Regions from separate parts of the Homo sapiens genome. Here region 1 is linked to region 2. Evidence: promoter capture Hi-C in 16 types of primary human blood cells and fetal thymus (Javierre and others, 2016). All regions are on one chromosome and are shown on one strand. The core of a region is centred on a gene start or on the middle of the fragment in contact, and the rest is flanking DNA. Distances in the headings are between cores, read along the strand shown. Region 1 overlaps DAG1 (dystroglycan 1). Region 2 holds the start of TRAIP (TRAF interacting protein).

What was found. The method cuts DNA at HindIII sites, captures the fragments that hold promoters and counts their contacts. A CHiCAGO score of 5 or more calls a contact.
Region 1: a fragment that was not itself captured here is called in contact with the fragment with the promoter of TRAIP in region 2 in 1 of 17 cell types (erythroblasts); the score reaches 5.4 in erythroblasts.

The regions. Positions count from the first base shown.
Region 1 is chr3:49,509,185-49,514,512 of GRCh38, forward strand. It overlaps DAG1 (dystroglycan 1), which reads left to right. Exons shown (of 3, transcript NM_004393.6): 2 at 1,235-1,635. The coding sequence starts at 1,351. Among named protein-coding and RNA genes, the nearest start is that of DAG1, 42 kb to the left of the region's middle. The HindIII fragment of the contact is 500 bases long and covers 1,717-2,216 here.
Region 2 is chr3:49,854,787-49,859,874 of GRCh38, forward strand. It overlaps TRAIP (TRAF interacting protein), which reads right to left and starts at 1,778. Exons shown (of 15, transcript NM_005879.3): 1 at 1,570-1,778. The coding sequence starts at 1,667. CAMKV (CaM kinase like vesicle associated) reads right to left here. Exons shown (of 11, transcript NM_024046.5): 11 at 3,203-5,088. The coding sequence ends at 4,532. The HindIII fragment of the contact is 3,060 bases long and covers 834-3,893 here.

The sequences.
Region 1 (5,328 bases), core at 717-3,216, 350 kb before region 2:
AATCCTGGGAGACTGAGGTGAGAGGATCACTTGAGGCCAAGAGTTTGAGGCCAGCCTGGGCAGCATAGTGGGACACTGTCTGTACAAAAGATTTTTAAAAACTAGCTGAGTGGAGTGGTGTGCACCTGAAGTCCCAGCTATTTACTTGAGCCCAGGAGTTCAAGGTTACATTGAGCTATGAACATGACACTGTACTCTATCCTGGGCCACAGAGCAAGAACCTTCTCTGTCCCCACTCCCCTACCCCTAGAAAGATACACACATCAAGTCTGGTTGCTGTCTCTAAATCGAGAACAGTCATCTTATGTTTAGGGATGTCAGCATTTGGAGAGACCAGGCCAGTTGTTTGGCAGAAGATCCCACATTCTAGATTTGTGTGATTTTCTTTGCATAGCTCCCATATTTCCTGTAAATTGGAAGTTAGGTCTAAAGCAGTGCCACCCAACAGAAATATAACATGAGCCACATATGTCACTTAAATTTTCCTGGTAGCCACATGAAGAAAAGCAGATTAAATTAATTTCAATCATATATTTTACTTAATATTTTATTGTTTTTTTTTGAGGTCGAGTCTCACTCTGTCACCCAGGCTGGAGTGCAGTGGTGCAATCTCGGCTCACTGCAACCTCCACCTCCCGGGTTCAAGTGATTCTCTTGCCTCAGCTTCCTCAGTAGCTGGGATTACAGGCACCCACCACCATGCCCGGCTAATTTTCATATTTTTAGTAGAGATGGGATTTTACCATGTTGGCCAGGCTGGTTTCAAACTCCTTACCTCAAGTCATCCACCCACCCTAGTCTCCCAAGATGCCAGGATCATAGGCGTGAGCCACGGTGCCCGTCTTGTTTAATACATTTCTTTATTATTTATTCTTTGTTAATACTTATTGTTTACTTAATATATTTTATTGAATGTATCTGACTGTATTCAAAATATTACTAATACATATCATTTCAGTTTGCAATCAATATTTTAAAAGTATTAATGAGGCATTTTACATTCATTTTTTATGAAGTTTTCAAAATCCAGTGTATATTTTATATTTAATGGATCAGCTACATTTCCAGTGCTAAGGAGTTGCACGAAACTGTTGGTTTCTGTATAAGAGACCATGGGGGTAAGAGGCTTGATCCAACTCGGGGTAGATGTTTTTGACAGTAACTCCTGGAGGATAGTATGTGACTGAACCACTGGAATTGCTCAAGTCTAAACCTGCTTTTCTTTTTTTTTCAGGCTCTGTGTGCTCCGGGATGGAGCAGGTGTGCAGAGGGTGAGAACCCAGCTCTGGGACCAAGTCACTTGCTTCCTTACTTAGCAAGACTATCGACTTGAGCAAACTTGGACCTGGGATGAGGATGTCTGTGGGCCTCTCGCTGCTGCTGCCCCTCTCGGGGAGGACCTTTCTCCTCCTGCTCTCTGTGGTTATGGCTCAGTCCCACTGGCCCAGTGAACCCTCAGAGGCTGTCAGGGACTGGGAAAACCAGCTTGAGGCATCCATGCACTCAGTGCTCTCAGACCTCCACGAGGCTGTTCCCACAGTGGTTGGCATTCCTGATGGCACGGCTGTCGTCGGGCGCTCATTTCGAGTGACCATTCCAACAGATTTGATTGCCTCCAGTGGAGATATCATCAAGGTGAGACTGGATATAAAGCATAAATGAGGAAGAGTTCTCATTTTCCATTTTAGTTTTGGTGGCTTTTCCTTTTCAAGTCTAAGCTTCACCAATTCTGAGCTCAGTTCTTCCAGTACCCCCTTAGAAGAGGGACAGCCACTGATGTTCATAAGAGAATCCCTATATACTCAGAATAGCATCCTAAACTGTATTCTTGTTCCTATTCTGAGGGCATCACCATGTAATAGCCTTTACTCTGGAAGTTCTACTGAACACTGATTTAGGGATTTGTTGGAAAGGTCTGTCACGTGTATAGGGAAAGGTTACCTTTAATAAAACACAGAGTTAAACCCCAAAAAATAGGACTTTTATGCTTTGAACTTACTTTTTAAAATAAGATATAAATAAATATAGGAGTTCTGCTCTGATTTGCTGATGTATGTTGGCTAATGTAATTGATCACTTAAGAACCAAAATTAGTACCCAAACTTCAGCCTTGCCCCATATCCTTTGGAGAAGCCATCCAGAGAACAATGGAATCTGAGGCCCGTGTAGAGAAGAGTGTCTTGGTTGACCCAGGATAGAAATCAGGTGAAATAGGAAGCTTTTGTGTGATGAAGCACCATCTCTCTGTCTGAGTTTGTGGAACCATGGAATTTCCCCTAGATCTTAAATGAGTTTGTTTCATGGACAGGTGGGTGGGATGTACCCCTCAAGTTATGAACATCTTCTAGAGCAGAAGTCAGCACACTTCACCCAAGCTGGAGTGCACTGGCATGATCATGTCTCACTGTAGCCTTGACCTCCCAGGCTCAAGTGATCCTCCCACCTCAGCCTCCCAAGTAGCTGGGACTATAAGCACATATCAGCACACCTGGCTAATTTTTGTACTTTTTGTAGAGATAGGGTTTTGTCATGTTGCTCAAGCTAGTCTTGAACTCCTGAGCTCAAGCCATCTTCCTGCCTTGGCCTCCCAAAGTGCTGGGATTGCAGGCATGCACCACTGCACCAAGCTCCAGGCAGTAAATATTTTAGGCTTTGCAGGCCATATGGTTTCTGTCAGAACTCCTCGACTCTGCCTGTGTAGTGTTAAAGTAGCCTTTACAATATATAAATCAATGGGCAATAAAACTTTACGGTGGATACTTTTTCTTTTTTAATTTTTTACACTTATAGTCCCATTCTGACTTGAAACAGATTTTTGAATTTCATATGTCAAGAAAGAAATATTCTTTTACAATTTTTTTTTTTGAGGCAGGGTCTTGCTCTGTTGTTCAGGCTGGAGTGCAGTGGTACAGCCATGGCTCTCTGCAGCCTTAACCTCCCAGGCTTAAGCCTTCTTCCCTCTTCAGCCTCCCAAGTAGCTGGGACTACAGGTGTGCACCACCACACCCAGCTAATTTATTTATTTATTTATTTTTGAGACAGAGTTTCGCTCTTGTCGCCCAGGCTGGAGTGCAATGGCACAATCTTGGCTCACTGCAACCTCCGCCTCCTGGGTTCAAGTGATTCTCCTGCCTCAGCCTCCTCAGTAGCTAGGATTACAGGCGCACGTCACCACGCCCAGCTAATTTTTAAATTTTAATTTATTTTAATTAATTAATTAATTTTGAGATGAAGTCTCTCTCTGTCACCCAAGCTGGAATGCAATGACACAATCTCAGCTCACTGCAACCTCCATCTCCCAGATTCAAGTGATTCTCCTGCCTCAGCCTCCCAAGTAGCTGGGATTACAGGTGCGCACCACCATGCCCGGCTAATTTTTGTATTTTTAGTACTGACGGGGTTTCACCATGTTGGCCAGGCTGGTCTCAAACTCCTTATCTCGGGTGATCTGTCTGCCTCAGCCTCGCAACACCCAGCTAATTAAAAAAAAATTTTTTTTTAGTTTGGGCGTGATGACTTACACCTGTAATCCTAGCACTTTGGGAGGCTGAGGGAGGCAGATTGCTTGAGCCCAGGAGTTTGAGACCAGCCTGGGCAACATGGTGAAACCCCAACTCTACAAAAAATACAAAAATTAGTTACAAAAAATTTTTTTTAGATAGGGTCTTACTCTGTCTGCCAGGCTGGTCTCAAACTTCTGGTTCCTGCCCTACAGCATTCCTTCTCTAGAGGTGTGGCCTACATGTGAACTAAAAGTATTCTGAGACCTATACTTTGTTAGGTATTTTCTGTATGATCTCTGCATTCAGACTTCTACATACATTTAGTGCTCTGGCTTTCTGTTGGTGTGTTTAAACCACCAAAACAGTGGTTTAACTCAACCAGCTTGTTTTACTCAACATTTTTTGGCCAGGAATTCAGAGATAAGGAACCTTATCTCTGTTTCACATGGTACTAGGTAGAGTGGCTCACCTGGGGCTGGGGAATTCACTTCTAAGTTGGCTCATTCATGGCTGGCAAGTTGATGCTGCCTGTTGACAGGGAGCTTAGCTGGGGCTGTTGGTCAGTGTCCTTGATTCCTCTTCATGTAGACCTCTCCATGGGCTGCTTAGGTGTCCTCAAAGCACGATAGATGGATTTTAAGATTAGGTATTTCAAGAAATAGGAAAGGAAGCTGCCCAATCTCTTAAGGCCCAGAACTTGCCCAACAACACTTCCATTTTACTCCATTGGTCAAAGCACATATAGACTCTGATGGGTGTTTACCAGCTTGCCCCCGTGACCCGTAAGCCCCAGGCTTCTAGATTAGAAATGGCCACAAGTTCTATGCCACTCTTTCCTTGCAGAGGTGAGTCTGTGCCCTTTTCCCTGAATCTGGGTGGACCTCCCCTTCAGCCTGCTCCCTTCTTGTGTTCGCCTCCTTTTCCCTGTTGGTCACCTTCTTTTTAAGCCGTGGCTTGTTCTCAGAGTGACCTTGTGGTCTCTGGGGCAACCGTATTTCTGAAGATCTTGGCCCATGTAGCAGCTCACATGTAGCAGTTCACAGAGCTCTTCCTAGTTTGCAGAGTGTTTGCATAAAGTTTCCTTGTCATCTTTGTAATATCCCAGCAAGCTAGATGCTAATCTGACCATTAGATACAGAGTGGTGGCTCTGGAAGGTACATTTCTTGCTCAGCTTCAGATTTAATCCTGAATATCCATACCCTGCATTGGTTGCCTTTGTTCCAGTAGCCATTGGAATGTTTTACGTGGATTAATCTTGGCCAGAAGTGCCTTGAACTGATACAGCAAACTAGATATTTGTTGTATTTGGCAGAGAGATGTTTAACAGGCTTATTTACCAAGGGGGTGAAGAGATTTTACTGAGAAAACAGGATTTTATCTGAGCATATTTATCTGTGGAAAGCAGACCATTTAGTAGCTGATGAGCTTGTAGAAAAACAGATGAAGATGTGTGACTCTTCGTTCCAGTCTTAACCACCGGGATTATATGGGTTGGGGAGTCAGAAGGTCAGAAAGCCTGATCTTGTTCCTAGAGCTTTGGTTTCTGCATCTGTAAAGCAGGATTTAGAAAGTCTTTATATTAAAGGAATTTTTTTCTTATTATAATAATGATGCATAAATGTACATTGTGGAAAATATAGAAAGGGAAAAAAAATCTGTGGTTTCTACCATTCAGAGTGAAGTCCTCTACCGTTTTCTATGCTCATCAAGAGATGGTCATGCCACATACACACACAGACGTCTTAACATATTAGACAGACCTAGGATCATAGTGGATATATTTTTTAACCTTTTTTTTTTGAGACAGAGTCTCACTTTGTTGCC
Region 2 (5,088 bases), core at 528-3,027:
TGGTTCACACCTGTAATCCTAGCACTTTGGGAGGCAGAGGTGGGTGGATTACTTGAGTCCAGGGGTTCAAGACCAGCCTGGGCAACATAGCAAGACCCCATCTCTACTAAAAATACAAAAAAAAAAAAATAGTCAAGCATGGTGGCAGGCGCCTGTAGTCCCAGCTACTTGGGAGGCTAAGATGGGAGAATCACCTTAGCCCAGGAGGTAGAGGCTGCAGTGAGCCGAGATGGCACCACTGCACTGCAGCCTGTGTAACAGAGTGAGACCCTGTCTCAAAATAAAATAAAATAAAGATCTTTGCAGTAAGCTAAAGTACTTTTTAATATACAAAAAAAGAAATAAATGCTGTTTCAAGGGATACATGTAAAACACAAGGACACAGAAAAGTTTAAAGTAAAAGGATAGGCCCTAGCACTTTGAGAGGCCAAGGTGGGTGGATCACCTGAAGTCAGGAGTTCGAGACCAGCCTGGCCAACATGGAGAAACCCTGTCTATGAAAAACACAAAAATTAGCTGGGCGTGGTGGCGCACGCCTGTAATGTCAGCTACTTGGGAGGCTGAGGAAGGAGAATCACTTGAACTCAGGAGGTGGAGGTTGCAGTGAGCCGAGATCACGCCACTGCACTCCAGCCTACACGACAGGAGCGAGACTCCATCTCAAAAATAAAATAAAATAAAAATAAATAAATAAAGTAAAAGGATAGAAGAAAATAGAGTAGGCAAACAGAAAATAGAGTACGCTTAGAGGCGAGCTTAATTTCTAGTCTAACCAAACAGCAGTGGCTCCCTCAGCATGGGGCTCAGGCTGTCAGCAACACAGGCCTAAACAAAGCTTTGCAAGTAAGCCAGCAGCCATCAGTGTCATGCCTGCCTTTCTGCTTCCTAGGGCCTTTAGCCCCACAAGACCCTGTGATTATTATCACCCACCATTCCCAGGGGTAACGCTGCCTTATCTCTTTTGCTAGGAGGTCCAAACCGGCCTGTCCACATCTGCTAGGGGAATCTTTCCCCACTAGCTGTACACTCAACAGAATGGCCCTACACGGTCAGCAGGACCCCTGGATAGGGGAGCATCTCCTTGCCTTCCCCATGTTAAACGGGTTTGCTGACATGGCGAATACATTGGGGTGTCTGGACAGTGAGATGACTCTGGGTAGAATAATTCCAAACCATCAAGTAAGGCACAGCAAACTCTCTTGGGTAGCCAGAAGCCTAGCAGGTTTCTATCTGGAAGAAATAAAAGGACTTGTTGATGTGGTGAAAGCTCACCCTTGCCCAGGCTAACGGTTTTGAAATCACATCTGTTTGTATAGGTGATCAAGGAAGCATCTATCTTCACTGAGCCATCTTAGTCCCCCTCAGGCTTAGCTCAGCTATCACCTCTACCAGAAAGCCTGTCCTGACCCACTTCTGCCCAGGTTGGGAAGCTCCCGTGGGGCCTCGTCTAGGAGGAAGGTTCTCATCACTTGTCTGGATTCCGGGGTTGGACCGCCTGGAGGCCCAACACCTCAAGGCCCTGAAGCGGTACCCGGGCAAACACCGGGCCCCAACACTGCAGTCACTCACCACTGCAAGTGGAAGGTGTGGCCGCAGTGGATGGCGGCCACGTCGCGGGAGTGATCGAAGAAGTCGGAGCAGATAGTGCACAGAGCACGGATAGGCATGATGGCTGGACTCAAGGGGCCCAGGCAGCCAAAGAAACTGCTACAGGTCCGGCTTCGTAGACGCGCCCCCGCGCCTCCGCTTGCTTCAAATTTGGCTCCGCAGCACGACTTCCTGGAGCGGGCCGGAAGTGACAACACAAAACTTTGGGCGGAGCGTGAATACTTCGCCTGGATTGGACAAATTCTCGGATGGGCGGAACTATGGGCGGGGCTTAGCGGCCCCGAGGCCGTAGAGAATCCTGGGCGGAGCGCGGTCGCTCTCAGGCGTCCTCTGGGGAGACTCGACCTGCCACTTGAGAGCGCAGCATTATATCAAGGCGGGGAGCAGCGAGGCTGCCAGCTGGACCCTTTTCCAGGGCAAGGCAGCGCATTGTGGTCCCATGCCAGAGCTGGCGCGAGGCAGGCTGGGCCAAGGCAGAGAAAACCGCAGCCGCAAGGGAATAGAACAATGGTCCCGATGGGTCCCTTGGGCTCTGGACAGTGATGGACCATGCGCTATGGTCTGTAGTTCCCATAGACCACAATACCCTACCCTCTCAGTCCTCAGTTCCGGGCGATTCTAGAAAGATGGACACATAGGCCCCAGTCCCTCAGGTCACCCCAGGCCAACCTTGGCTTCATCCAAGTAAGATATGACTATCCTTGAGTTTGGAGACACTAGGGCCAGTACCCTGACTTTAGCTCTTAGCTCTCAGGAGGATCAGTTATGCTTGAGACTGTAGTAGGGTTGGAATTTTGGAGGCCCAGATGCTTCAAAGACTAGAGACTAACAAATCCTTTTTATTATTCCCACATCAGAGAAGTTATCTTTGAGGAGGTTATCTTTGAGGTCCTCCCAGAGAGCAGCATCCCTGGTGAGTTCACCCAGGCCCACCTGGGCTGGAGTAAGTCAACTTTTGGGTTTTTAGGCTTAGTATCTGTGGCAGTGTTACTCCCTCTACCCAGAAGAAACCCTGTGCATAGTCCCATAATATAAAGCTGATCTGCTCCAGCTGAAATAGACCCAGAGTGAGATTTCATTTGGGGCATAGGTGGAAAGCACAGGTGTTCACAGAAAGAAGGAATCAACACAGAGCAGCATAGAATCTTTGTGCATTGCTCACCCTACACCCTCTCCCTAGCTCAGGGAAGCTATCTTTGGCTATGAGCAGGGTCTGTCCTTGCGGTGGCTGGCCCAGGTAGATTCCAGCTCTATGCCTAAATCAAGAGTAAGGCTCCTCGGTCAACAGGAGTCAAAAACAGCAGCCCTTACTTGAGCTCTCAGCCCAGGGAGTATTCCTTGGTCCAAATGCAGCCCAAGACCCACTACTCACATGGATTTCTAGAGTTCAGAGGACCCCCACCACCACCACCATTGAGGAATACACTGTGGTGAGGATGATCTTCACCCTCAGCCCAAGAAATCCACAGGGCACTGTTCACTACTACTCCCAGCCACTACTTGTGAACCTGCTCCCAGCCTCTCCCTTCCCCACTGCCTTCCAGGGGCTCCTCCCCAGTAGGACAGAGGAAGCAAAGGCGAGAGGGTGGCCAGAGGCTTTGCAGGGTGATGTTTATTTGCCAGGTTCAGTAGGCACACAGTTAACCCACCGACCTTCACACACCAGAGCAGACCCACAGGCATGCAGGGAGAAGGGCAGGACCACCACGGAGTGCCGAGCAAGGGCGAGGACCAATGTGGCTGCCTATCCAGGCTGTGGTAGGGTCTGACAAAGGGCACCTGTCAGGAGCCTCCCTCAGGAAACTGGGGAGTTTAACCCTACTTCCTCATCCCAGAAAAAGCAACTCAATGTGGCTCTGAGGCACCTGGGCCTCTGATAGAAGTGAGCTGTAGAAAGAGGGAGTTCCTCTTCATTTCATTGTTGAACTGAGCAGAAAATCTGCCCCTGTAAAGGGCAAACCTCCAAATCAGATTATGAGTTATTGCCATGCAGCAAGCCCCCTAGGGTGGAGAGGACTTGTGGGCTGAGATTGTAGGAGGTGGGCATCTAGGAAGAGCAAGGAGGTATCAGCCCTCCCTGTTTGGCCCAGGGTAAGGACCCAGTAAGGCTGGGACACTGGGTGCTGGGCTTGTACTCTGCCCTGCCAGGTCTCATTGCCACGTCCTAATTGTTCCTCCTTTCCCTTAGAGGCTCATGAGGTTCAGGGTACAGGGCAGCCCACTGCAGGACTCGGAAAGGCAGGAAATAACACAAATAACAGGGTCTTAGGAAGGACAAAAATGGAAGCTTCTGCCCTCCTACTCATTCTCTCCACTCCTGAGGACCTCCACAGCTAGTGAGCAGTATCCCTAGCCATGTGCCAAGTCTGGACTTAAACATACTGCCCTACCTTTCTGCATCCTCTATACCAGCCTGTATCTGCTCCTAGAGCAGCCCACACACCACAGGCACACACCTTCATGTGCAGGAGCCTAAGACCGCTGACAGGGCCTCGCTGGAGGACCAGCTCTCAGGGCAAGGCCGCCCAAGTTTAGGGCCTGGGAGAGTGTGGGACCTGCAGGGCCTGCCTAGGGGAATGGTGAGGCAAGAAGGGAAGGGGAAGGAGAGCAGGAGCCCCCTGAGTATCCCTAGAGCAGCATCCCACAAGGAACAGAAACTGGTGAAGCTAGCAAAAGACAGAAAAGCCACAAGGAATCCATGCAGGGGCTGGGGCCGGCCCTGCCACTGGCCTGCCCACCACTCACACACATACACACAGGAGACGAGACTGCTCTCCCGTGACCCCTAGTTATGCCCCACTGGGATGTGGGGGCATGGGGGAGCGAGGGCATCATGCCAGTGACTCTATGTACAGTGAGAAGCCCCTCATCCACTCTCCCACCCTCCTGCCCATCCCCTGCCCCCCCTCACCAGGCTGCCTACTCAGCTGGCCTCCTCCCTTTGAGACTCCTGGGCATAACCAGCAGCCTCTTCCCCTTTACTAGAGGGTGGAGCCTGGCCTGTGGCGCCCTCTGGGGCTGTGCTGTCCGGCTGGGCCATAGCCGGCTCAGGGGTGGCAGCTGCCTTGGTGGCCAGCATGGCACTGCTTTGGGTGGTGGGCACAGTGCTCTCTTCTGTGGCTGGTGTGGCTCTCCCATCAGTGGCTGGAGTAGCGCTCCTGTCAGTGGCTGGGGTGACACTCCCATCAGTGGCTGGAGTGATGCTTCCATCGGTGGCTGGGGTGACACTGCCATCAGTGGCTGGGGTGGCACTTCCATCTGTGGCTGGGGTGGCACTACGGTCTGCGGGGGCCACATTATCACTCTTTGCAGCACGAGCAGCATCACCCTCAGGGGCTGAGGTAGCTCCACTCGCAGCTGCAGCTGTGGCCCCACCTGCAGCCCCGGGGGTGGCAGTGTCTGTGGCTGAGGCCGACTGGGCTGCAGCCGTGCTGGACTGCTCTGGTGCCCGGAGCCGTTTCATGAGGGTGGTCACTCGGA